Linked DNA regions of Homo sapiens: regions 1, 2, 4, 5, 6 and 7 are each linked to region 3. Evidence: promoter capture Hi-C in 16 types of primary human blood cells and fetal thymus (Javierre and others, 2016). All regions are on one chromosome and are shown on one strand. Each heading gives the region's core, a stretch centred on a gene start or on the middle of the fragment in contact. The rest is flanking DNA. Distances are from core to core; before and after follow the strand shown.

The links. Contacts are between HindIII fragments. The CHiCAGO score rates a contact against its expected background, and 5 or more counts as called.
Region 1: a contact is called between a fragment that was not itself captured here and the fragment with the promoter of JDP2 in region 3, in 1 of 17 cell types (monocytes). The highest score is 5.8, in monocytes.
Region 2: a fragment that was not itself captured here is called in contact with the fragment with the promoter of JDP2 in region 3 in 1 of 17 cell types (monocytes); the score reaches 6.5 in monocytes.
Region 4: a contact is called between a fragment that was not itself captured here and the fragment with the promoter of JDP2 in region 3, in 1 of 17 cell types (monocytes). The highest score is 5.8, in monocytes.
Region 5: a fragment that was not itself captured here is called in contact with the fragment with the promoter of JDP2 in region 3 in 1 of 17 cell types (monocytes); the score reaches 5.4 in monocytes.
Region 6: a contact is called between a fragment that was not itself captured here and the fragment with the promoter of JDP2 in region 3, in 2 of 17 cell types (monocytes and neutrophils). The highest score is 6.8, in monocytes.
Region 7: a fragment that was not itself captured here is called in contact with the fragment with the promoter of JDP2 in region 3 in 1 of 17 cell types (monocytes); the score reaches 5.9 in monocytes.

Annotation. Positions count from the first base shown.
Region 1 is chr14:75,064,431-75,068,072 of GRCh38, reverse strand. It overlaps a transcript of ACYP1 not described here. Among named protein-coding and RNA genes, the nearest start is that of ACYP1, 2.2 kb to the right of the region's middle. The HindIII fragment of the contact is 1,393 bases long and covers 654-2,046 here.
Region 2 is chr14:75,048,227-75,052,148 of GRCh38, reverse strand. MLH3 (mutL homolog 3) reads left to right here and starts at 682. Exons shown (of 13, transcript NM_001040108.2): 1 at 682-769; 2 at 2,431-3,922. The coding sequence starts at 2,494. RefSeq lists a silencer at 880-1,069. The HindIII fragment of the contact is 495 bases long and covers 2,395-2,889 here.
Region 3 is chr14:75,426,505-75,430,174 of GRCh38, reverse strand. It overlaps JDP2 (Jun dimerization protein 2), which reads right to left and starts at 2,153. Exons shown (of 4, transcript NM_001135048.2): 1 at 1,923-2,153. It overlaps JDP2-AS1 (JDP2 antisense RNA 1), which reads left to right and starts at 2,520. Exons shown (of 2, transcript NR_184172.1): 1 at 2,520-2,705; 2 at 3,464-3,670. RefSeq lists silencers at 1,505-1,674, 1,735-1,914, 2,165-2,434 and enhancers at 2,100-2,657, 2,625-2,684, 2,705-3,034, 3,285-3,384. The HindIII fragment of the contact is 6,934 bases long and covers 733-3,670 here.
Region 4 is chr14:75,009,310-75,013,097 of GRCh38, reverse strand. It overlaps EIF2B2 (eukaryotic translation initiation factor 2B subunit beta), which reads right to left. Exons shown (of 8, transcript NM_014239.4): 8 at 732-3,788. Among named protein-coding and RNA genes, the nearest start is that of EIF2B2, 8.3 kb to the right of the region's middle. The HindIII fragment of the contact is 2,787 bases long and covers 89-2,875 here.
Region 5 is chr14:74,964,811-74,968,857 of GRCh38, reverse strand. No RefSeq gene overlaps it. Among named protein-coding and RNA genes, the nearest start is that of PGF, 11 kb to the right of the region's middle. RefSeq lists an enhancer at 2,424-3,623. The HindIII fragment of the contact is 2,632 bases long and covers 1,118-3,749 here.
Region 6 is chr14:75,101,591-75,105,527 of GRCh38, reverse strand. It overlaps NEK9 (NIMA related kinase 9), which reads left to right. Exons shown (of 22, transcript NM_033116.6): 14 at 1,531-1,686; 15 at 3,763-3,871. Among named protein-coding and RNA genes, the nearest start is that of NEK9, 23 kb to the left of the region's middle. The HindIII fragment of the contact is 3,965 bases long and covers 599-3,937 here.
Region 7 is chr14:75,081,359-75,085,234 of GRCh38, reverse strand. NEK9 (NIMA related kinase 9) reads left to right here. Exons shown (of 22, transcript NM_033116.6): 22 at 549-3,876. The coding sequence ends at 671. Among named protein-coding and RNA genes, the nearest start is that of ZC2HC1C, 14 kb to the right of the region's middle. The HindIII fragment of the contact is 8,341 bases long and covers 1-3,876 here.

The DNA of each region.
Region 1 (3,642 bases), core at 101-2,600, 360 kb after region 3:
GGTGATCCGCCTGTCTCAGCCTCCCAAAGTGCTGGGATTACAAGCATGAGCCACCGGGCCTGGCCTTTGTTTTTGAGACAGGGCCTCACTCTGTTGCCCAGGCTGAAGTGCAGTGGCACAATCACTGCTCACTGGAGCCTCAACTTCCACAGCTCAAGTGATCCTCCCACCTCAGCCTCCCGAGTAGCTGGGACTACAGGTGTGTGCCCCCCACACCCAGCTTACTTCTTTTTTTTTTTTCTGTAGAGACAGGGTCTCCCTTTGTTACCCAGGCTGGTCTCAAACCCCTGGAGTCAAAAGAGATCCTCCCGCCTCAGTCTCACAAAGTACTGAGATTATAGACGTGAGAGACGGCACCCTGTCTGCATCTTGTTAACTTCAAGTTATACCTCTCCATAAACTCTGTCTCTTTGGTTTTAACATATACTCAACTTTCCCCTGCAAAACAAACCTTACTTCCCTTGACCTAACTTTCATATTACAGTCCCATTCATTTCTCCTCTTCTCCACAAGACTTCTTAATGGAAATCTCCACATTTGCTGCCCACATATCCTCATCTCCCCGTCATTGTCCAGTTCATTGTGGCCTGTCTTCTACTTTCTCCACTTTATTTAACTACAAAGCTACCAGTGACTTTCCAAAGACAAAAGCTTCATTTTTTCAGCCTACTCATGTGACATTACTGATTATCCACCCACTTAGAATGCTCTTCTCAGTTCTCCTGTGCCCTCTTGGTTTCTTCTTTCATGTTCTTGCTCCATCTTCTTCCAAGTCTGGCATTTATCTTTTCCCCATCTACTCCCTAAATTTAAGTGTTTTCTGAAGCCCTCTTATTTCATATATATGTGTGTGTGTGTGTGTGTGTGTGTGTGTGTGTGTGTGTGTGTGTAGTTCCAGACATTCTCTTCTTTAATGATTTCAACCAAATGCTGAAATTTCAGGTTTCACCTGTGTTTAAATGACAGCCAGCTTAGCTTTAGTCTTTCTCATTAGTTACAGACTCAAATTTCAGGACTGCCCATTTGACACCTCCACAAGATTGTTCCTTAGGAACCTCAAATTCTGTAAGACAACATAAACTCTGATCCTCTCCCATTCTCAAATCTGCCTCTCCAGTGTGCCCTTGCATGCTCACAGCATCAGTCTTCCATGCTTCCCTCTTTGTTGCCTCTTCCTTCTAACTAATCACAAGTTTTATTGAGTTTTCTTCCTTTTTTTCTTTGAGACAGTCTTGCTCTGTCATCCAGATGGGGGTGGAGTGGCGCGATCTCAGCTCACTGCAACCTCTGCCTCTCAGGTTCAAGCAATCCTCCTGCCTTGGCCTCCCTAGTAGCTGGAAGTACAGGTGTGCACCACCACGCCCAACTAATTTCTGTATTTTTAGTAGAGATGGGGTTTCATCAGTCTCAAACTCCTGACCTCAGGTGATCCACCTGCCTTAGCCTCCCAAAGTGCTGGGATTACAAACGTGAGCCATCACGCCTGGCCTATTGAGTTTACTTCTGCAATGTCTCTCATATATGACTCTTCCTTTACATTTCTGCTGCCCCAGGTGAGTTTTTCCTCACTTCTCCTTGGGATGGCATAGCCCTCCTAACTTCTGCTCTTGCCTTCAATATCTGCTCTTCAAACCCATCCTTCATGCTGCAGGCAAAATAATCAGTCTAAATATTTCTCCACCCCCCCCCAGCTTTATTAAAATATAATTGACAAGCAAAAATTATATCTATATTTGCAGTGTACAAAGTGATGTTTTGATAATGTATGCATTGTGCAGTGATTAAATCAAGCTAATTACTAAATGCTTCTGATCCTACCATTTCCCTCCCCAGTAGCTTCTTCTTTACCTATAGAATAAAGTTGAAATGCATAATTTAGCATGGCATCTCTACCTCCCAGATTAGGTCCAGCCTACCTTTTCAGTTTTGCCTCCCCTTAATAAGCCACAGAGTTCAACCCAGTGAGTCTCATCCCTGACTGTGTGTTAAGACTACTTGGAAAGCAATATCTAGGGGTGAGGCCTGAGGATTAACATTTTTAAAGCTTCCCCAAAGATCCTGATGCACAAGCAGGGTAGCAAACCCCTGGTCTAGCCACAACTGGCTACTTGTACTTCTTCATCTCCATGGTACTACATTACTCTAAGCTCCACATACTGGGAGCTGGTAGAGCATAGCATTCATGGGGATTGACTCTGGAACCAAATCCCAGCTCCATCACTTACTGGTTGTGTGACCTTGGATTAAATGCTGTTTCCTCCAAGAACTCTTTCCCTGTCTTCCCAATCAGAATTAATTTGTTTGCTCCTTTGTAATATTTTCTGTCCTTGTTATAGCACAGGGCTGGTTCCTGATGAGCTCTCAATGGATTTTCATGGAATTAAATTATCATGCCATATATTTTATTGTCATTATTTGCATGCATTTGTGCCCCTACACTAAATTAAAAACTCTTTGAGGGCAAAGATTTTATATCATTCATCTTTGTATATCCTAGAGTGCCCCATTCGTATTAGACACTCAGTAAGTTTTGAATTCTATAAACTATTTTTTAAATGAATTTTAGAGAAAGAAATACCATTAGCAAGATACTCTATTTAGAGTTATTTTCAAATATTGCCAAGTACAACATTCAATCCAGCTTGTTCACCACCAACCCCCCACCTCTCAGCACTAAGGTTGTATGATTCTCTAGGATATGGATCCTCACTCTAGCGGGGAACTAGCAGAATGATGAATTTCCGTGCCTACTGTCACAAACCCATATCTCATTGTCAAGTCTGCCAACCTGGCATATTCACATAAGGAGTCTTTACGTTATGAAGAGGTGTAATGTATACAGTCAATCCACAGAGGATCAATAAACACCACAGTTTTCCTTCACACACATGAATCATAAGGGTAGCTGGATTCAAATGTTTACACATCAACTCTAATTTTAACCATCTTCATCCACATCCCCCTTGACAATTCCCTGTTCCCAAAATAAATTCGTGTAGTTTGGCCATTTGGCTTAGATTGACTGACTCAACTGTAATTCTGGAGCCATGAGTTATTTTGCTTGTGCTCTTGCTTTATTTGTGTAGTTAGCTGGTTATTTGTTCAAGCATTATTTGACATTTTCTTAGTAAAGGAGACCGGTGAGTAGCTTCCAGAAGCCCAGAAGCAGACATAACCTCCATTGGGACCTCCTGTGCACTTATGCCCCGTAATCCCCTATTCCAGATTGTTATGACCCAAACTTTAAGGAGAACTGAATGAAAAAGGACAGAAAGGTTAAATGTATCCTACTCAACATATTTATGATGTTTATTTTTTTATTTATTAATTTATTTATTTGAGTCAGAGTCTCCCTCTGTTGCCCAGGCTGGAGTGCAGTGGGGCAATCTCGGCTCACTGCAGCCTCCACCTCCCAGGTTCAAGCGATTCTCCTGCCTCAGCCTCCCGAGTAGCTGGGATTACAGGCGCCCGCCACCATGCCCGGCCAATTTTTGTATTTTTGGTAGAAACGGGGTTTCACCATGTTGGCCAGGCTGCTCTCGAACTCCTGACCTCAAGTGATTCGCCCGTGTCGGCCTCCCAAAGTGCTGAGATTACAAGCTATTTATGATGTTTAATGTGTGCTGTTTGTCTCTCACCTCC
Region 2 (3,922 bases), core at 1,393-3,892, 380 kb after region 3:
AACATGGAGAAACCCCCGTCTCTACTAAAAATACAAAATTAGCCGAGTGTGGTGGCGCATGCCTGTAATCCTAGCTACTCGGGAGGCTGAGGCAGGAGAATCACTTGAACCCTGGAGGCGGAGGTTGCAGTAAGCTGAGATCGCACCACTGAATTCCAGCCTGGGCAACAAGAGCTAAACTCCGTCTCAAAAAAAAAAAAAAAAAAAAAAAGAGTTGAGTTAGACAGTTTCTCAGCCTTTTCCAGCTCCAAATGCCATAATTCTAAGATGGCAGGCTCTGGAATTATTCATTCATTCGGTGCCTACCATAGGCCAGGCACTGTTCTTGGTAACTGGGATACAGCAGTAAACAAAATATATAAACTCCTTACCTTCACATAGCTTACATTCTAGGGAGAGAAGACAATAAGTAAACACATAAAATATATATTGAATTAAACGGTAGTTAAGAGCAAAGGTGAAAATGAGAAAAAAAAGGAAAGGGAAAACACGGGAAAAAAAAATAAAAACAAAAGTAAAAGCTACGACATAGTCTTTAACACCATGCCAAAAGGGAATAAGGATTGAGACTGTAGGTACCGGTTCACTGAACCCTGGGATGCGGATCCTTGGCTGGAACAACTGGTGCGCATGCGCACTGGTGTCTCGCGGCCTGGCGCGCCCCCTCCGAAGCGCATGCTCGTGGGCACGCACGAGCCTCAAGATCCAAGGTGCGCGCGTCGGCGTCCGAGGCGGTTGGTGTCGGAGAATTTGTTAAGCGGGACTCCAGGTGACTCTGGGGGAAGCACGCGACGAAAAGATGATGCCGGGGTCTCTTCTAACACCAGAAGGGCCCTGATGATGGCTGCGCGCAGCTTTCGGAGCCGGATGCGCGAGGGCCCCGGAGGCCCGGCGGCCTGGCGGCCGGGCGGGCCCAGTTTGGGGACAAGGACGGGGCTGGCCAGGGAGGGGCTGGGCCTGGCGGGAAGGCAGCGCTGCCCCGGACTCGGCCCGCGCGGCCCTCCCAGGCCCCCGTGCCCTGGATCCAGGCCCGTGCGTCCCGTCAGTCCCAGGCGCTGGGAGGCGTCATCAGGAAATCATTGGGTTTACATTAATCGGAATACTTGTTAAACGTTTACCCGTCAGTTGCTGCCGGCTGCTTAGTGCATTAGCTTAGAAAGCAGCAGAAATTCTGCAGTTAAGAGCCCTGATTTGTCCCGAGTTTGGAAAACCGGCCCCACCGCCTGCAGGGGCCCACCCACGTGGCTCTCACTGATGGAGAAGAAGGGGAGACCTTTAATGGCACTGGAATCTTAGGGTTTGGTTTTTTTTGTTTTGTTTTTTGTTTTTGTGTTTTCACTTGCAGGAAAACTTAAAATCAAGTTCAGGCAGCCCCATGCCATCATTATTATTACCAAGGTAGTTTATGCCCATCTGTAAAGACCAAAAGAATATTAATAATGACCTTCTGGCCGGGCGCGGTGGTTCACACCTGTAATCCCAGCACTTTGGGAGGCCAAGGCGGGAGGATCACTTGAGTTCAGGAGTTCGAGACCAGGCTGGTTAACATGGTGAAACCCCATCTCTACATAAGAGACAAAAATTAGCCAGGCATGGTGGCGAGCGCCTGTAATCCCAGCTACTCGGGAGGCTAAGGCTGGAGGATTGCTTGAGCCCGGGAGGTGCAGGCTGCAGTGAGCCGAGATTGTGTCATTGCACTCCAGCCTGGGTGACAGAGTGAGACTGTTTCAAAAAAGAATAATAACGACTTTCTAAAAACATCAGAGTAATACATGAACAGGATTTAACAATCAAATGGCAAAGAAAGGTTTATATGAAAAGGAATTTTCCTGCTTTATCTTTTCCCATTCCCAGCCTCTTTCCCTGAGGTGACTATACTTAACCATAATAATAATAACCTCTTAATGCCCCCAATCTCTCTTTGATACAATTTGATTCTTAAAATTTCTTCCTATTGCTTCACCTTATTACAATGTCTTAGCAATTCATTATAAGTATTTTTCTAAAAGTCATGGTTATTGTGTAATGTATAAATGTTATGAAACTAGCTTGGACATTTTTGTCATGAATAATTTCTAGCTAATGTTCCTTAGCTGTATTTAATTTAGGCATCTGTTTTTGGTGAAGTGGTTAGAATTTCGAATACTGTGTTTACTGGTCAACTTCAAGTGTAATTATGATTTCACTTTAGGACATGTGGGATTTAGAAAGGAGCATTGAAAATTATGAAATTATGAATTTTTTTTGGATGTTAATCCATTGCACCAAGCATGAGCTGTGCCTAGAGATCAGCGGTATAACTTTGTTTTGCTTTGTTTCACAATTTGGTTTAATAAGAGTGATTTCATTTACCTCAAGTGCTATTTCTTCATAATGCTGTGTAATGCTAAAGCTTTGATTATGTGCGTGTGTGGTTTTTTTCTCCAATAGGCAATTATTTCCAGTCAGAGAAGGAAACCAGTGCCTGGCATTCTCACCATCTTTCTACCTACCATGATCAAGTGCTTGTCAGTTGAAGTACAAGCCAAATTGCGTTCTGGTTTGGCCATAAGCTCCTTGGGCCAATGTGTTGAGGAACTTGCCCTCAACAGTATTGATGCTGAAGCAAAATGTGTGGCTGTCAGGGTGAATATGGAAACCTTCCAAGTTCAAGTGATAGACAATGGATTTGGGATGGGGAGTGATGATGTAGAGAAAGTGGGAAATCGTTATTTCACCAGTAAATGCCACTCGGTACAGGACTTGGAGAATCCAAGGTTTTATGGTTTCCGAGGAGAGGCCTTGGCAAATATTGCTGACATGGCCAGTGCTGTGGAAATTTCGTCCAAGAAAAACAGGACAATGAAAACTTTTGTGAAACTGTTTCAGAGTGGAAAAGCCCTGAAAGCTTGTGAAGCTGATGTGACTAGAGCAAGCGCTGGGACTACTGTAACAGTGTATAACCTATTTTACCAGCTTCCTGTAAGGAGGAAATGCATGGACCCTAGACTGGAGTTTGAGAAGGTTAGGCAGAGAATAGAAGCTCTCTCACTCATGCACCCTTCCATTTCTTTCTCTTTGAGAAATGATGTTTCTGGTTCCATGGTTCTTCAGCTCCCTAAAACCAAAGACGTATGTTCCCGATTTTGTCAAATTTATGGATTGGGAAAGTCCCAAAAGCTAAGAGAAATAAGTTTTAAATATAAAGAGTTTGAGCTTAGTGGCTATATCAGCTCTGAAGCACATTACAACAAGAATATGCAGTTTTTGTTTGTGAACAAAAGACTAGTTTTAAGGACAAAGCTACATAAACTCATTGACTTTTTATTAAGGAAAGAAAGTATTATATGCAAGCCAAAGAATGGTCCCACCAGTAGGCAAATGAATTCAAGTCTTCGGCACCGGTCTACCCCAGAACTCTATGGCATATATGTAATTAATGTGCAGTGCCAATTCTGTGAGTATGATGTGTGCATGGAGCCAGCCAAAACTCTGATTGAATTTCAGAACTGGGACACTCTCTTGTTTTGCATTCAGGAAGGAGTGAAAATGTTTTTAAAGCAAGAAAAATTATTTGTGGAATTATCAGGTGAGGATATTAAGGAATTTAGTGAAGATAATGGTTTTAGTTTATTTGATGCTACTCTTCAGAAGCGTGTGACTTCCGATGAGAGGAGCAATTTCCAGGAAGCATGTAATAATATTTTAGATTCCTATGAGATGTTTAATTTGCAGTCAAAAGCTGTGAAAAGAAAAACTACTGCAGAAAACGTAAACACACAGAGTTCTAGGGATTCAGAAGCTACCAGAAAAAATACAAATGATGCATTTTTGTACATTTATGAATCAGGTGGTCCAGGCCATAGCAAAATGACAGAGCCATCTTTACAAAACAAAGACAGCTCTTGCTCAGAATCAAAGATGTTAGAACAAGAGACAATTG
Region 3 (3,670 bases), core at 904-3,403:
CTGCAGGTTGGAAAAAAATGCCCACACATCCTACAAACAGGTAGGGAGATGACAACAAACCCAGGGAGTCAGGAGGAGCATTCCCTGGTAGCTGCAAAAGTTAGGCAGTGGATGAGTGGGGAGACCCTTATCCAAACCCTTCCTAGGGGGCATTGTCACCACTTTGCAACACATCTCCTTGGAGGTGGCTGCAGCCAACCTAGGAGAAAAGCCAGAGGTCTACACACCCATGACTTCCTGCAGCCCACCTAGGAGAAAAGCCAGAGGTCTACACACCCATGACTTCCTGCAGCCCTTCAAATCACACAGCACCCAGCTCTTCAGGAAGATTCTGGAGCTGCCTGCAGCTCTGAACCAAAGCCAAAGTAGAAGGGAACAGAAGAGTCTTTGAGAAATCCATCCTCCCTGCTCTAAACAAGGCAAAACCTTAACCACCCAGAGGTGTGAGAATAGATTTTGCTTCTCTTCCTCGATCCTCAGGTTTATACAAAATCAGAGCCATGCTCACACCTGATACCTGGTTAAACTCTCCCCTAGAAACCTGCAAAGGAAGATAAGCTATCCATCCAAGCTGCAGCCAGATTTGCTGGAAAGGTAAAAGCAATGGGAAGTGTTTTTTAAAACCCTCAGGGAAGGAAGGTTGGGGGGAAGGGAGATGATACGCGAATGCAGTTTCTACCAAGGGCTTAAAGGACGTTTGGGTACAAATGTACCCAAACATGGTTCAAAGCTTCCCAATTCCTGATGCTCCTCCAATTAAGACCCTAGGGAGAGACCACCAAGATTTAAGCCTGGGTACACACGCCTAAGCAGGCTGCAAGCCCTTTCTGAGATATAGACCTGAGCACATTTGCCCTGAGCACACGTGGTCGGGCCATAGCCCCATGCCCTGGATTCCAACAGGGAGGGCAGCACCCTGGGCAAGGGCCACGCCATCTTGCAACTGGAGATGACCCAAGGGGGTCGGCTGATTTCTCCTTCCACCAGCCTCTCCATCCCTGCAAAAGAGCCAGGACCTCCCCATCTTCCCCAGCCTCCTCATCTTCCCTGCTCCTCCTACTGACCCAGGCAAAGCCTGGCTCTGCCATCCCAGGGTCCAGGGATCCAGGTGGAAGGCCCAATCCACCCCTACACTCTCCCACCCCCCACTGCACCCCTACCCCTCGACAACCTCCTTTGAAGGGAGGAGCAGAGGAGAGCCTTCTAAGCTGGGCTGGGCAAGGGAGAGGCTGGTTACCTACAGGAGCCTGCTTGCCTCCTTATATAACCTGGCGTGGGAGACAGGAGAGCCCAAAGGGGACCCCGGCCACCCCTAGATCCCCTCCCAGCCCAGAGCTCCGAAGCAATGGCCATGAGAGAAGCTGCCTTCATTGGATGGAAATCCCGAGCCCTTCTCAATACTCTCCTCCGGGTCCGGGTCCTCCGGGAGTCGCGCTTCCTCACTGCCAGGAGGTCCTTGTCATCCCTCCACAATCTAACCCCGACCCCAACCCCGCACCTCCCTGGCCCTTCACCCTCCACCTCCACCCGCACAGCCCATCTCCGCGGGCACTTTTCTCCCCACTCACCCCGCCTTCCCCGCCGCCCGAGGAGAGCACCTCCCTGCAAACGGACGGGGGAGGAGAGCGCGGGAGGGAGAAGGAGGGAGCACCCCGGCTGTCCAGGGAGCGGACGGAGCCTCCCGTCCCGGGGCGGGAACCAAAAGGAAGCCTCAGGCTGCCGGGCGCCTCGCGGGAGGGGCCCGGCTGCAGCGCCCGGCGCGGGGAAAGCTCGAGGTCCCTGGGCTGCGGGAGCCTCCCCGCGGGGCTGGGCTGGGGCTCCTCGCGCTCCGCCCGTGCGGGGGCGGCCGTCCCAGGTGCCCGCGCCGCGCCCTGCCCCGCCCCGCCCGTCCCGGCGCCCCCAGCGCGCGCCCTCGCACCCACCGTGCAGAAGGTGCGGGGGGAGGCGGCGCCCCCGGGGCCGGGGCCCGGCTGCAGGCGCCGTGCCCGCTCCGCGCCGCTGCCGCCCGGCCGCGGAGCTCCGCCCGGTGCCCAGGCCTGTCCCGGCCCGGGAGCCGCCGCGGCGCCAGCCCCGCCGCCGCTGCAGCGTCCGCCGCCGCCAGCGCCCCCCGTCGCGGCCGCCGAGCGTCCCTCCCGCAGGCTGTGGCGGGCGGCGGGACGGGTTGCATCAGCCCCGGCTATATAGCGGCCCCTGGGCGGCGGGGAGGGGTCGGGAATGCGGAACCGGCCGAGCTGCCAGCTCCAGACGTCAGAGGGGGACGGAGAGGAAGGGAAGGAGGGGACCGGGGAGGAGGGGGTGTGGAGCCGGCGCTTCACACCCACTGACCTTAACCTCCCCCGCCGCCTTGGGCGCCCTCCTCCCGCGGCCGCTCGCGCTCCTCTCCCCGCGGGGGCGTCCCGGGTTCCATGCAGTCCCCCGGCTCCGCCACCCCACGGTGCAGGAGCGCTCGAGAAAGCAGGACGCGGCGAGCGGTTATGTAAGCGCACCCCCCGCGCACCGCCGCCCGGCTTGTGCCCGCCAGGCAGCAGCAGCCGCAGCCCTAGGAGAGAGACGCGAGAGGCCGGAGCCGGGGGAAAAGTCAAAAGCCCCTTCACGCACAGCCTGTGTTAACCATGTACCTCAGTCCCGGCGCTTCCCCCACAAACTGAGAGCGACAGGGAGAATTTCCGCACAGTTTCATCCTTGGACACTTCAGGACTGAGCGGGTGAGGAGGCGATCTCGCCAGCCTGCTTTATTTTTCGGTGGAGAAGGATGGGCTGAGATGAAGGCATTTGGGGACTCCTACCCCTACCCACCGGCCCCCGCCAGCGCCCTTAGGCCCCGAGACGGCTGGCTGCACCAGCCTGACCTCTGCTAGGGCTGCAGCCTGAGACCGCGGCTTGCTCTACTGCTGGCGCAGTTTGACCCTTGGGCTTGTACCCTGCTCCAGCGGGCTTCTCCTTTCCACTCCGGACACAGCAGTGAGCAGACCCAGCCCTCAGCAGACCCCAAGTGGCCTTCTTCCCCGTTCCAGCTTCAATAGCCAACCCCACTCCCACCTTCCATCCTTCTAGAGAGGAAATGGTGAAGGGGACTCCAGAGGGAAGGCGACATCCATGGTGCCCTCCAGTATACAAAGGCAGAGACACAGAGCCCTCAGGTAGAACGGGGTTCCCTAGATGGCATCTCCTACCTCCAGAGCTCCTGGGTACCCATCGAGCCCCCTACCTTCTGCCTAAGCCAGATAGGAGTGACGATTTTTATACTCAGCGACTTTCGGCCTCCTTCTGAGAGTGATGTCAGGTCATCACCCATAGAAGAAAGGAAGTGAAAGAAAAAGTTCATGCCTTCTTGGAGTGCAGATGCTCAGAGTGAAAGAAACAACAAGACTTGAGACAGATGGGTGCCATTGAGCAAACCCGAACATGCATGTCTCTCTCATGTGAGTGAGTGCATGAGACTTTATTCTCCTTATTTCCCCAGTGCAGTGAAATCTTTCTGGATAAAAGAAGTGGGCTAATGGAAGGAGAGACAGACCAAGTCCCAATGACATTGCCTGACCATTTTCACCTTCGCCATCAGCAGTCTCCCTCACAGCATTGGTGTGGGCAGGTAAGAAGAAAGCAAGGCCCTGAAAGAATATACATTGGAAAATGAGCAGTAATTTGATACTCTTGTGGAAGAGCATGA
Region 4 (3,788 bases), core at 233-2,732, 420 kb after region 3:
TATACATATCAGGCAATCACCATCTCAAGCATGATTAGACTCAAGTGCTGCCCTCCATCGTGTGAGGGATGCTGGGAGACTGGAAGCTTAGACTTTAGCTCTTTAAGTTGGTGCAAAAGCAATTGCAGTTTTTACTATTAATAATAATAATTGCCTAGCCATTGTGCAGTACCTTGCAAGAGCTCTTTGGCAAATGAAAGAATAATTCAAAGCAAAGTAGGCCAGATATAAAACACTTCCAAATCACATTTCAAAATTGTTCTTTCATGTCAACTAGGTGCATGTCTGCTAAGGGAGTTTTTGCAAGGACAGGTGGATAGTGTGAGGCCTTTACAATAATCACATCACCATCTGGTACTATCTGTATGGCAGAGCAGTTCTGATGTAGTTGTAGTATTATAGATCATTACAGAGTATGCCAGTCATTCCATGATGGAACTGTGACTGGCAGCCTTCATTAGCCCAAAGACTGATGCAACAGATTGCTTTGAGAAATAGTTTTGAAGCACATCCATGAAACATATGATCCTATGGGTTCCAGCATTGATTTCTTTGAGGTATCATTTTACACTTCAGTTTTTCCTGGTAGAGTATTTTTCAGAGATGTCTCTTCTGAGGCTAAATTAGGAATTTCTGTTCCTTATTCAAGTTCCAAGAATTGTGCCTTTCCTGCCCTCTGCCCAAACTGGAAGATAGAAACCGTGGGAAAAAAGTGTCTTTACAAACTGCACTGTTATCTAACTTGGTTTATTTAGCATATTGAGGAAGACTTTCACATCCATGGAATCCTAGTTCTATTAATTCTCTCCAAGCTACAACAGTTGTTTTTTTGTTTGTTTTTTTCCGAGTTTCTCGGTTCCGCCAGCAAGGCAGGGGTGGGAGGTGGGCACCCCTGATACCAAGGCTGACAGGTAGTGAGTTGATGTGGAACTTCTGTTTCCTCCTGTTCAGTTCAGGTTCTCTCTTTCTGATACTTACCCCTCCTCAAATAGGGAAACGGAGAGAGGGGAAATAAGAAGATGAGCCTTAATAGGGTTTACTTAATTGGGGTCATAAAGATTCTAAAAAGTATGCATTCCTGCAGTTCTGTTCTAGGCACTGTAAGAGCTGACCAGAAAGAGAGCTTCTACCCTTATAACCTTCATCCAACTCAGTCATGCCTGGGAAGGATGTTGGTGCTAATTTTAGACACAGAGACTAAGATGGACAAAGGACAAGTATCATAAAGCATTTTTGGAGCCAGGAACAGATTTAAGTTCCTTGCCTCACTGCTGCTCTTACTCCAAACCACACAATTGTACCCAAGTGAATTGCTGTTAGAATTGGTGCCTTTGGAGGAGACAATTGCTCGTAATTGGTAGCTACAAGCCACTTCACTGAGAAAGCGTGGGGTCTTAGATGCTTTAAGAAATAATAGAAAGACTGAGCCTGAGTGAGTCAGGCTCTTCTGAGTCATACAGCTTTTAGGTCAGTGTAAAATGCCGACTTTCTGAGGTCTTACTTTTTTCCCCTCTCTGGAAGACCTAAGGCAAAGATCGCTCTCAAAGAGATATCAAAGAATAGAGACCTTTCCCTCAGAACCTACCTCTGCCCAGTGTTAACCAAAATGTGGTTTCAAATCACCTGTTCAAAGCCCACAGGCTATTTGTTAAACATGCAGATTCTTAGTGCTCCCTCCACCCACACAGACACTGCACAAGAGGCCCTGCTTTGGACCACTAGTTCCTAAACATGGCAGAAAATCTGGATCACCTGGGAGACTTTTTAGGTTAAAAACCGGAAACAATATGTAAGCATAAACATGTCAACAAAATTAGAGGATGTCCCTCTGCTTGCTGTGCTTGGTATTATACTTCTATACTGTTTCCCTATGCGTGTACATATAATTTTGTTTTGTTTTTGTGAGACAGAGTCTCACCCACTGTTGCCCAGGCTAAAGTGCAGTGGCCCAATGGCACTGCTCACTGCAACCTCTACTTCCCAAGTTCAGCCTCCCGAGTAGCTGGGACTACAGGTACCCACAACCACACCTGGCTAATTTTTGTATTTTTAGTGGAACTAAAAATTTTATTATAGTATTTTAGTTTCGCCATTTTGACCAGGCTGGTCTCAAACTCCTGACCTCAAGTGATCTGCCCTCCTCAGCCTCCCAAAGTGCTGGGATTATAGGCGTGAGCCATTGCGCCCAGCCAGTGTTGTTTTATGGAAATGAGTCCGTATTATGCATATTGCTCTGCAGCTTGTTGTGTTTTTTTTCCCCAGCTTGTTTTTAACTAACAGAGTATCAAATGGACTTCCTTGCAAATCTGTCCCATTCTTTTAACACCAGGATCACAACTCAAATGCCTACAGGGGTTAGGCAGATAACATAAATGAGTTAAATGGATCCAGTAGGAACTGCAGAAAACTGGAGATGTTCCATCCAATGGCATCAGATGTTACCCAACCACAAACTAACTACTGCCATTTGGAAATGTTGGCCCAGAGTTGCCAAATTTGAGTTTTCAAGAAAAGCAAGAAATCTGAATTTTTGAAATGTGCAATCTCCAGATTTTTAAATATTGGTAACAAATTCACATTAAATGCAGTGAACCAGCCCAAATGCCTTCAATCCAGACACTGCCCCTCCAGCCATCCTTTTGAAACTTCTATTGCCATGTATAATGTTCCACGGTGTAACTGTCAATACTTAACCTTTCTCCTATTGCTGGACACTTAGGCTATGACATTACAACTACTACACTGAACACTCTGTATAAATCTTTTTGCTTGTACAAATAATTCTAGAAATACAGCTTCCAAATTGCCCTCTAAAAGGCTGTACCAATTTATAGTCCTATAAACACTACATGAGACTATCCTTTTCTGGGAAGCTTTAAACAGATTCCCAGGTAGTAACCCTGAGATCAGATGCAGTAGGACTGAGATGAAACCCAAGACTGTGTGAGTGAGTGATCGGAATCACTCTCAGGTGATTCTGATGATCAGCGAGGTTTTGGAACTACTGTTTTAGACTATGAACAAACTTTGGGGCCAGGAGCAGTGAATTGTAAAGGAAACTATACTTTCATTTGTACTTGTTATTTTTTTAGAGACAGAGTCTTGCTCTATCATCCAGGCAGGAGTGCAGTGGTACAATGATAGCTCACTGAAGCCTTGAACTCATGGGCTCAAGTGATCCTCCCACCTCAGCCTCCAGCATAGCGAGGCCACAGGCATGTGCCACCATGTCTGGCTAATTTTTTAAAATATTTTTTTGTAGAGACAGGATCTTGCTATGTTGCCAGGCTAATCTCAAACTCCAGGCCTCAAACAAGCCTCAAACAAGCCTCCCACCTCAGCCTCCCAAAGTCCAGGATTACAAGTGGGAGCCACTGCATCTGGCCAGTACTACCATGTTGTACACTTTTCCCGCTAACTACAGCCCTCTATGCAAACACAAAAAAGGCTCTGCTGCTGCTGTTTCAAGCAGTTCTGTCAGAGTAGGACAATAAATAAACCAACTATGGAACCTTCAAGTGGCTTTTATTGGTAGAGCCTAGAAAAAGTGTCATAGCCATTTCTGAGCAAAAATCTGTATCCCAGTAAGGTATTCAGTGTTATGTTTAACACACTACTGAACCAGAAAGTTTAAGTTCCTGACACAGACGCAACCAGGTCACTAAGAGGCTCCAAAATCAACAAGTTAAGCCCTGCTGCTCTGTTAAGATCTGAAAGGCAAGACACAGTCCTGGATGTGTGCCCTTGTTACGGGGTGACTAAAAAGGCAGGCAACAGTATCAAGGATT
Region 5 (4,047 bases), core at 1,184-3,683, 460 kb after region 3:
TGCCAGCAAATCCAGCTATAATTTAATTGATTTTTGTAGTTACCTTTCTATTTAAGGTAGTGATACAAAGTTTCCTTTAAAAATATTTTTAAGTAAAAAAGAATCAATTAGCTTAAACAAATATAGTAGTCCCCCTTATCCAGTTTTACTTTCCATGGTTTCTGTTACCTGTAGTACAGTACAGTAAGACATTTTGAAAGAGAAATAGAGAGATGGACCACATTCACATAACTTTCATTACAATATATTGTTCTCCTTGTTCTATTTTTTTTTGAGACGGAGTTTCTCTCTGTCACCCAGGCTGGAGTGCAGTGGTGCTATCTCAGCTCACTGCAACCTCTGCCTCCTGGGTTTAAGCGATTCTCCTGCCTCAGCCTCCTGAGCAGCTGGAATTACAGGTGCACGCCACCATACTCGGCTAATTTTTGTATTTTTAGTAGAGACAGGGTTTTACCTGTTGGTCAGGTAAAACCCTGTCGGCCAGGGTTGGCCAGGCTGGTCTCGAGTGCCTGACCTCAAATGATCCACCCATCTTGGCCTCCCAAAGTGCTGGGATTACAGGCTTGAGCCATCTCGCTTGGTCTTTTTTTTTTTTTTTTTTTTAATAGAGACAGGGTCTTGTTATGTTGCCCAGGCTGGTCTCAAACTCCTGGCCTCAAGTGATCCTCCCACCTCAGTCTCTCAAAATGCTGAGATTACAGGCATGAGCCACTGAACCTGGTCTGTTCTATTTTATTACTTATTGTTGTTAGTCCCTTACTGTGCCTAATTTATAAATTAAACTTTATCACAGGTATGTAGTTATGGAAAAAAACAGACTATATAGGGTTTGGTACTATCCATGATTTCAGGCATCCACGGGGGGTCTTGGAACATATCCTCGATAAATAAGGGGGACTACGGTAAATAAGTAATACTACAGATGGCGATATGGTTCACCTGTGCCCCCACCCAACTCTCATCTTGAATTGTAGCTCCCGTAACTCCCACATGTCGTGGGAGGGACTCAGTGGGAAGTAATTGAATCATGGCGGCAGATCTTTCCCATGCTGTTCTCGTGATAGTGAATCTCACGAGAGCTGACGGTTTTATAAAGGGGAGTTCCCCTACACAAGCTTTCTCTTGCCTGCTGCCAGGTAAGATGTCCCTTTGCTCTTCCTTCATTTTCCATCATGATCGTGACACCTTCCCAGCCATGTGGAACTCTGAGTCCATTAAACCTCTTTCCTTAATAAATGACCTAGTCTTGGGTATGTCTTTATTAGCAGCACAAGAATAGACTAATAGAGATGGTATTTGGATATGGCAAGCAGCATGACTGTGGCACATGGTTATTGATAATTTTGGTCTCTGGGGAGATGCAGACATCCCTAGGAGAAGTGATACCTCCAAGGGACTCTTCTGAGACCCCTGCCAATTGCTGCTTTACTGTCTCCGTGTGATTCCTTGGCTTTTCTTTCTTTTACTGCTGAATTTTCAGCTCCTCAAAGGCTGAGACTGTGTCTTAAGCCTCAGAATCTCTCCCAGTACCCAGCACAGGGCCTGGAACAAGGTAGATGTCATTCAGAAAGTGCTAAGTGGCCAAGCAAGGTGGTTCTGTAATCCCAAGACTTTGGGAAGCTGAATCAGGAAGATTGCTTGAGCCTAGGAGCTTACGATCAGACTGGGGAGCATGGTAAGACTTCAGCTCTGCAGATAAAAAAATTAGCCAGGCATGGTGGTGCACCCCTGTGGTCTCAGCTACTTGAGAGGCTGAGGCAGAAGGATTCCTTGAGCCCAGGAGTTTGAGGCTGCAGTGAGCTGAGCTCGTGCCACTGCACTCCAGCCTGGATGACAGAGCAAGACTCTGTCTCAAAAAAAAAAGTGCTAAGAGGACTGAGATCAGAAGTCAGACTCCATGCAGCATAAGGAACCAGGAGCCTGAGTTCTGGTTCTGACCTCTAACCTTGCTAGCTGTGTGGGCCTGGACAAGTTCTTCAGCTTCTCTGAGTCTCCCTCACCTCATTCATCTGCCTCACAGCGGTGTTTCCAGCACAAAGTATATGAAAGGAGTCTGAAATCATACGTCTCTATAAGAGATTATTAATACTATTATTGGTTGAATCACAAATCTATTGTCACTGAAAATCTTTCCAGTGCAGACAACCAGAAGTAAAAATGAGGAAAAAAGGGAGGTGCTACGAGGGAATGAGAGGCAGGAGGCCTGGAAAGGGGGAATTGGGCCCCTCCTTTACAATCTGATCCGGGTGTGGGATCACCTGCAAACTGCCTGATATGGTTTGGCTGTATCCCCACCCAAATCTCATCTTGAATTGTAGCCCCCATAAGCCCCACGTGTTGTGGGAGGGACCCAGTGAGAGGTAAATGAATCATGGGGGTGGGTTTTTCCCATGCTGTTCTCGTGATAGTGAGTAAGTCTCACGATATCTGATGGTTTTATAAAGGGCAGTTCCCCTGCACACGCTCTCTTGTCTGCTGCCACGCAAGACGTGACTTTGCTCCTCCTTCCCCTTCTGCCATGATTGTGAGGCCTCCCCAGTCATGTGGAACTCTTGAGTCCATTAAACCTCTTTTTCTTTATAAATTACCCAGTCTCAGATATTTCTTCATAGCAGTGTGAAAATGGACTAATATACTGCCCCCTGTGACCTCAGCATAGGCCTTCCCCAGCACGGGACCCCGGCAATGTCTAATGCAAAAAGCATGGTCTGGCATCATATAACTAGTGTTCAAGTTCCAGCTCAGCCACCTACTGGCTGGGTGACCTGAGGTAAGTTACCCAACCTCTCTGTGCTCATGATTCTCATCACTAAAGTGGGACCAATGCCAACCTCTCAAGCCCGTTGTGAGAAATGAATAAGATCACACATGTATACATGAGCCCTGACATGTAGTAAGTGCTTGGTGAATATGGGTTCCAGGGAATTCTGCAGGCTCCTGGAAGAAAGATACGGAAATGATTCAGGTGCATGATGTCATCTGGAGCATTGAATTCATCATCTGGGAGAACTGGACTCCCCAGAGCTTTCCTGACCTGAAGCTAGAGCTGGAAAGTAAGAGAGTAAAATCACAGATGTCAGTTTCCAACTCCACCTCCATTCTCACCCCACGCCCTCCCACCCCCACCTCATTACACCCAAAGTAGGGGCCAATCCTGTCCCTTAGGATCTCTTGGGCTATAGACTCGAGACCTTGCTCTTTCAGATGAAGGAAGCTGGAGGCAGAGGAGGATCTTTGGAGAAGCAGCCAAGTGTTCTTTGACTCATAGAAGAGTCCAAGGCCCGAGGGGCCAGCTGGAGGTCCACTGTCTGTCTGCTGAAAGCTCTGCTAGACTTTCTGTCTCCTCCACCCCTGGAGATCCAACCATAAGTGGAATTAATCCGGCTCCCCTCTGCACCCCTTGCCCCCAACACAGTTTCCTTCCTGTGCTCCATGGGAGATGAGAGCTGAAAGGGAGGGATGCATCTGGGGAGGCTGGTCTAGCTCAGCTGGACCACAACATCTGTATCCTTAGCTGTGGCCTCCTCGTTCCTGCTTCAAACTGGGAGGGAATGGAAGAGCCCAGTTCTTCCCAGGAAACTGATGTGACTCACTTCCCAGGAGGAGCCATGGAAGAATGCAATCTTTTCTCTATGACACTCATATAGAACCATGGGACTAATTTTCTCACCTTTAGAAGGCAAAAATGGGAAACAGCACATTTTAATAGAAAACTCCAAAATAATAGTGGTTTAAACAAGATAGAAGCTTATTTCTCCAACACATAATAATAATTCTGGATGTAAGCAGGTCAGGGCCGGTATGGCAGTTCCACACAGTTTTCAGGGTACCAATTTCCTTGCAAATAATTCTCATGGCCCAGGATGACTGCAAGAGCTCCTACCATCAGGTTTGAATTCCAGGCAATGTCTGGCAGATAGGGAAGCAGTGAAACATGCTCCTTCCTTTAAAGATACTTCCCAAAGGTCAAGCCCAACATTTTCACTTACACCCAGACCCTAAGAAATTCTAAGGGGTCAGGGATTGGCCAAAACGTAGTTCCAAGGC
Region 6 (3,937 bases), core at 1,332-3,831, 330 kb after region 3:
GTCATGTTGCATGAAACATATTATCTAATTACTCTCAGCCTTGCCAGAGCTGGCCCTGTGAGAGGCTCACAGAGGCTGATACCAGCTGGGGGAAAAGCACAGTCACATCTCTCCCACCTACCCTAGGGCACAGGCTTACCCATTGGAGGGTTGGCTAAATCAGCTATACCATTTATTGTTAGCAGTGTTTTGGGTTTTCTGTTTTCTTTTTTTTTTTTCTTTCCTTGGGAACTTTTAGCCAAACCAGTTTTTATTTATATTTTAAAAATTAAATTATTATGCATTTCTAGGGACCATCCTCAATGGGATTCCCAGCTGTTCCTTTTCTCCTGGAAAGGCTGTGGCAGAAACTGAGGGTTGAGGTTTCAGGTTTTACACACATCCATTGTGACCCCACACATGCATCACCCCACCTTCTCCAGTCCTGTCTAGTTAGCTGTAAAAAGATATGAGCATTTGGAAGTCCTAGATATTACCTCAGTACTCTGTCACCTCTCCTATAAAATGACCAGATTGGGACCCCACAGGGCTACTGAATTTCTGTAACTGTCAAGCAGCCTTCCATCTCAAAGGACAAAATCAGCAATGAATTGAAGCTTCTTTCTCAACTTTTTGACAGGTCACCCTAAGTAGGACCTATTACTAAGACAAACTGAGAGGGTGCTGTCTTGTTTAGTTGACCTGGAACTGTCACCTTTTCTTTGATATTGTAAAACTTGAGCTCTTCGTTGACAACAGTAGCCTTGACCGAGCACAATGGCTCACGCCTGTAATCCCAGCACTTTGGGAGGCCGAGGCGGGCAAATCACTTGAGGTCAGGAGTTCGAGACCAGCCTGGCCAACATGGTGAAACCCTGTCTCTACTAAAAACACAAAAATTAACTGGGCATGGTGGCACACGCCTTTAATCCCAGCTACTCAAGAGGCTGAGGCAGGAGAATCGCTTTGAACCTGGGAGGCAGAGGTTGCAGTGTGCTGAGATCATACCACTGCATTCCAGCCTGGGCGACAGAGCAAGACTCCACCTCAAAAAAAAAAAGAAGAAAAGAAAATAGTAGTCTCAGCCAGGCGTGATGGCTCACACCTGTAATCCCAGCACTTTGGGAGGCCAAGGTGGGTAGATCACCTGAGGTCAGGAGTTCGAGACCAGCCTGGCCTACGTGGCAAAACCTCATCTCTAATAAAAATACAAAAATTAGCTGGGCGTGGTGGCATGCACCTGTCATCCCAGCTATTTGGGAGGCTGAGACAGGAGAAGTCGCTTGAACCTGGGAGGCAGAGATTGCGGTGAGCTAAGATCGCACGACTTCACTCCAGCCTGGGCAAAAGAGGGAAACTCTATCTCAAAAAAAAAAAAAAAGAAAAAGTAGTCTCTAAGACACTGGGCAAACCTGAAAAGAATAGAGCAGTCCTCACTTTCCTGTAGTCATTCTGCTAAATGCAGCATGTCTCTTTTGAAAGAATTTGAGAGCTTTTTTTCTAATACGAATTATATATTTGGGATTTCTTTTTCTGATTTTTTTCTTGCAGGTGGATGTTCCCAAGGCCTTGATTATTGTTGCAGTTCAATGTGGCTGTGATGGGACATTTCTGTTGACCCAGTCAGGCAAAGTGCTGGCCTGTGGACTCAATGAATTCAATAAGCTGGGTCTGAATCAGTGCATGTCGGGAATTATCAACCATGAAGTGAGTGTCCTGATTGGTGTTCTAACCACATCATCAGAATTTCTCTAGGTTGGAATTTCTTTGAGATGCCATTATTGGTTAGTGACCATGGAATTTGACTTTAGTTATGGTCTCATAGGCATTGTGTGCAGAAAAAGAAGCCAGCCACAAAGAGTACATGCTATATAGCTCTATCTGTGTAAAATTTAAGAACAGGCAAAATTAACTTATACTGGCAGAAATCAAAACTGTGGCTACTTATTGAAGGAGGGGTATTAACAGAAGAGGTGGAAGGGATCCTAGAGTAATGGGAATGGTCTATATCTTGATCTGTAATGGTTTTACCAGTATATGTATATAGAAAAATGTGTCAAGCTGTGTGATATTTTGCAGTGTGTTATACTTCAACAAATAAATTGATTACAAAGAATAAAATGATGAAATTCAGCTTTTACCTTATTGAAATAGGAACAAGCAAATTAATGTTATAAAAAAAAACATATTTCCATGCATCACCTTCCTGGAGTTTTTTTGATTGATTGGAGTTTTTTAGATTTCTCCCAAATCACTGATCCTGTTTAGGCTTATCGAATGTAATTACCATTCTGTCTTCAAAAATGTTAGCAAATTCACCACTGATATTGTCTTAGTTTCCTTTTTTTTTTTTTTATTATACTTTTAAGTTCTAGGGTACATGTGCACAACGTGCAGGTTTGTTACATATGTATACATACGCCATGTTGGTGTGCTGTACCCATTAACTCGTCATTTACATTAGGTATATCGCCTAATGCTATCCCTCCCCCCTTCCCCCACCCTATGACAGGCCCCGGTGTGTGATGTTCCCCTTCCTGTGTCCAGGTGTTCTCATTGTTCAATTCCCACCTATGAGTGAGAACATGCGGTGTTTGATTTTTTGTCCTTGCAATAGTTTACTGAGAATGATGGTTTCCAGATTCATCCATATCCCTACAAAGGACATGAACTCATCCTTTTTTATGGCTGCGTCTTAGTTTCCTTTTTGTGTTAATATAATGAGTTTTGTCATTTTCCAAAGAATAAAATTAAGAGACAGAAGTTTTCTGACTCAATGAAAAAGGTAAGAATTAATTTTTAAGCAATCTCTAAAGTAGTGATTTTCAATTAGGAGAGTACAAATTCAGGGCAAGGCTGGAGAGAGTGTCTTTGTAGTTTGAAAAGAAATATTCAGTTGCCGGGCACGGTGGCTCACGCCTGTAATCCCGGAACTTTGGGAGGCTGAGGCGGGCGGATCACGAGGTCATGAGATCAAGACCATCCTGGCTAACACGGTGAAACCCTGTCTCCACTAAAAATACCAAAAAAAAAAACAGCCAGGTGTGGTGGCGGGCACCGGTAGTCCCAGCTACTTGGGAGGCTGAGGCAGGAGAATGGCGTGAACCTGGGAGGCGGGGCTTGCAGTGAGCCGAGACCGCGCCACTGCACTCCAGCCTGGGCGACAAAGCAAGACTCCGTCTCAAAACAAAACAAAATAAAAAAACAAAAAAAACAATATTCAGAATTACTATTACTTGATTTATGTTTTCATTATAGCAGTGGATTTGTTGTGAAATTTTAAACTTAAATGAGAGGATTCTTTTTTAATACTAATTCAAAGGGAACATGAGTTTTAATTAAGTTGAGAAACACTACCCTATAGATGAAATTAGATCACAGTAAGCTGATTCCTTTATGGGCTGGAGACAGTCCTCAGGACTTTAATTCTTTGCCCTGCCCTTGTTAGATATGCAGAGTGTATAACCAAGGTAAATGTCAACGATTCTCTCCTTATATAAATACCTTCTGGGATGGAAAGTTCATGTTTTATAAACCCTAAGTCAGAATCTAAAACTTTGGTTGTCAGAAAGTTCTGCCTCATGTGCTGCATTCTCTGATTACATATTCAGCTTATTTCCTCTTGTTTTCTGTTGGAGATGGAAAACTACCTGGCACCCTCTTCTTAGTAATATAACTTACTTGAAAGGCCTTTTGGTCACCAGGACTTTTTTCCATTCTCAGCCTGATTTTCCTTCGATTTTCTTACCTCATGCATCTGCTTTGTGTTTTATTTTGTTTCAGGCATACCATGAAGTTCCCTACACAACGTCCTTTACCTTGGCCAAACAGTTGTCCTTTTATAAGATCCGTACCATTGCCCCAGGCAAGACTCACACAGCTGCTATTGATGGTAAGTTGATTTACAACTGTATCACATGCCTTAGTAGCTGAGCCTCTTTTATTCTATCAGGTATTA
Region 7 (3,876 bases), core at 410-2,909, 340 kb after region 3:
CCAGGAGTTCAAGACCAGCCTGGGCAACCTGGTGAAACCCCATCTCTACCAAAAATAAAAACTAACTGGGCATGATGGCACACGCCTATAGTCCCAGTTATTCAGGAGGCTGAGGTGGGAAGATCACCTGAATCTGGGGAGGTCAAGGCTGCAGTGATCCGTGATCACACCACTGCACTTCGGCGTAAGCAACAGAGCAAGACCCTGTCTCAAAAACACACACACACACAAGGTAAGATTGGCAGCTATAGCAGGGAGAAGATTGTTTTGCCCAGGACTTTTTCCATTTTAAAACTAAGAGTTCTGCATCCCAGGAAACCCCGCAGTCCTGGACAAACCTGGATAGTTGGTCACCCTACCTGCAGTAAATATAAAGGTATGGACTGTATCTAAAATAGTGCCATGAGCGTCTCACAAGATCGTGGCTACAAATCCTTAGCCACGCCTTAGCCAATGCCTTAGAAGTTGGCATTGAAAATATAGTACTGAACTACTTCTGTGACTAGGTGGCACTGTTGCTAATGTGGAACCGTGTTTTATCCGGACAGGTGGGGATGCATTCCAAAGGAACTCAGACAGCAAAGGAAGAGATGGAAATGGATCCAAAGCCTGACTTAGATTCAGATTCCTGGTGCCTCCTGGGAACAGACTCCTGTAGACCCAGCCTCTAGTCTCCTGAGCCTGTAGAGCCCCCAGGAGACTGGGACCCAAAGAACTTCACAGCACACTTACCGAATGCAGAGAGCAGCTTTCCTGGCTTTGTTCACTTGCAGAAAAGGAGCGCAAGGCAGAGGCTCTGAAGCACTTTCCTTGTACATTTGGAGAGTGGCATTGCCTTTTAGATAGGATCTAGGAGTGATTTTATTGTTTTGGAGAATGGAAGGGCCCCCATGGCCCTGGCTTTGTCATCAGTGACTGCCATAGCAACAGCAGCTCTGTACCTCATCTGTTGATCCCACCTTTGAAGAGGAGACACAGTGCTCACCTTAATTGCGCTGGTAGCAGCTTATATCCCATGTATCATTTTCACCATTGATTGGAAGCTGCCTTGGGAATTCAGTACCAGGCATTACCCCTCTGGGTGGGAGAGGGAGAAGTGTAAAGTTGGAGTGGGCTGGAATCAGGTGTGGCCCGCCCAGTGTCCTCTGCAGAGTGGTGAAGTAGTCTGGCCCTCTTGGGAGCCCTGAGTCCAGGAAAATATGTCTGATGGAGTCAATCTAGGGCTTGTTTCGAAAAAGTTCAGTTACTCTGTGCAGCTAAATGCTTTAGGAGGAAAGGTAGGCTTAGGTTGCTTTTCCTCTGAGGGTTGATTGAAATTTCTTCAGTGAGGAATAGAGAAAGGGCAGGACCCTCCTCATCACACAGCTGGTGTTTCAGGCTGTGACCAATGCAGGGTGGGATTTCCTAACTGTGGATGAGGGGATGAGGTGTCTCTGAGGGATGAGGTGTCTCAGAGAATTGAGTCCATGGGGCAGTCAGAATAGCCTTAAGAGAAAATCATGAAGGAGAAGAGGTCCTCCTTTAGCTGCCTCTACTTGGTATCTTAGAGAGGGCTTAGAGGGCTCTCAGTCTTCTGCCCATGAAAAGACTTCTTTGAGCCTCTGCCTTCATGGCTCTTAGGGTTCTGATCTTGATATCAGCAGCCCCAACCACTTTCTTTCTGAATGTCTAGTCAGTATTTTTCCCCTTTTGGTGTTTTATGAAGCCATGTGGTAACGAATGAATCTGTATCATTTTTCCTACCTGAGTGGCCCAAAGCCAGCACCAAACCCTGGGAGTCCCTGAAGCCTAACAGAACAGGTAGAACTTGCAAAAGGAATTTGGCTGAGAGCTCACTTCTAATCCTGTACTCACTGTGTCTTTGTAGATAGAAACAAGCTAGCTTTACCAAAGAGAAATAGTGTCATAGAAGAACAAAACTTCATATAGAAAGTTCTAGGCAAGTATTTGATGGTTTCCTTAAGGATGTGAGCTTTGTATTTCCACCTAGCCTTGTAAAATGTTCCTGTGGTATTTTGTGTCACACATCCTACCTTTGATGAGTCTCACATCCCACCTTCCTATAAACAGCTAAATTAATTTTGTTTCATCTTCCCCAGACCAAAATGTTTGATAATCTTATCAACATTGTGGGAGGTCTTGTGCAATGGAAATTTTGCCATTTCTCCAAAACTGGTGGCATAAAGGCTGATGCTTGGGGAGAACCCCATTGCTCGGGACAGGCAACTCTGTTCAATGGGATCTTCTTTGGTTTGATGTTCCCATTGTTTTCTCAGTTCTGGGAAGCCTAGTACATTAGTACTAATGTAATCACTGAAACCTTTTCTTGAAATAAGGGAAGCAGCCAAACTTTGATTAAAGTTGCAAGTTCTGGGGACTTGCGGGGGTTGTCATAAACTGTAACAGTGGGTTTTGGTTCAGCATGTAAATGCAACTTTGATTTTCTTGAGGACCGATTGACCTGTCATGTCCCTGTATCCTCATGCTCATCATCTCAGCAGGCCTGAGAGGCTGGGTCAGTTTGGGTGTTCATCATGAGGATTGCTTCTGCCATGGAGCTGATGGACATGGGCAGGTTGCTGAGAAGGTGGGGTGAAAGTGAGTGCCGGGGGTGGGTGAGTGCCCTGGTCTTGTTCATAGGGGAGCCTTTCCCTAGCAGTGGAACGCTGTGGTCATTTTCTCTAGCATATTCCCTTGGGAAGTCTAGATTTGCTATTAATCTGGCTGAGAATCTAAGTTCTGTGCCTTAGAGACAGTTTGCACTTTCCCATATTGTGCCTGGGACAGCCATATGATTTTTTTTCCCACCAAACAAGTATGCAAACAGAAACCAGTTCAAAGGGGGATGGAGTAAAAGATGAGGCAGTAGAAATGCCTTTGAATGGTTTTCTGTAGCTAATTCTCTTTAAATTTTGTCCTGCTTTTTTTCTTTATGCAGTGCTAGGTGTTTTAAGTTTTCTAGTAGTATTGCTTTTGAGTTACAGTATAACCTGAGTTACTCCTCTGCTCTAACATTGTTGCAGAAGAACTAGTTTATTGTTAGCCAGGTTGCTTGAAAGGTTGAGAGTGGAGTGGTTTGGCATTTCTGTTTTAAATAAACATTTAAGCTCTTAATCAGTACTGTGCTTCAGTAAGCCTGTGCATGGACCTTAGTCTCTGGGGATAAAACATCCAGATTCTAAGCCTCCGTGAATCTTTGATTCTGTGAGTCTTTATATAAATAATGTTCTTGGAACAGAAACAATGCAAGGGACATCTGCACAGAAATATTCTTTGCTTCTCTCCAGTTTCTTATTCTTGCCAGCAGAATCATTGCTGCTGCTACAGCTTTTTTCCCAAAAATGTCTAAAAGTGCCGAAAGTGCAGAGGGAGGGAAAAAATGAGCCACTAAAAGAAGGATGATCCTTTCTTGTACCTACCTCCTCAGTCTCAGTGGGGGCCTTTCCAAGTGATAATGCCAGTTTATGGTTTGTAAAACTTTTCCTTCAAAGAGATTGAACTGAATTTGGTCTCCCTGGCATAGCACAGCCAAGTTACAACTTCTCTTGGCTGAGCATTTCACTGAAGTTTAAAGCAAAAGTACACTAAAAAATTTCATTTCACTTGCCATATGTTCACAAACATTCATAATAGAACAATTCAGGGGCAAGAATACATTTTAAATAAATTCATTCACATGAAATCCCTAAACCTCCAAAAAAGTATTCATGATGGTCAGGGCAGAGTGGGCTATAATCAGGACTATAAAACATGTTCCTAACTGCTGCAAAGCCAAAAATCATTTATTGTTTCAATGATTAACTGTGGAAATAAACACGCTGATCATTAAACCTCACAGAATGATGAACATTAGGGAGAAAAACTCCACTATGTCAC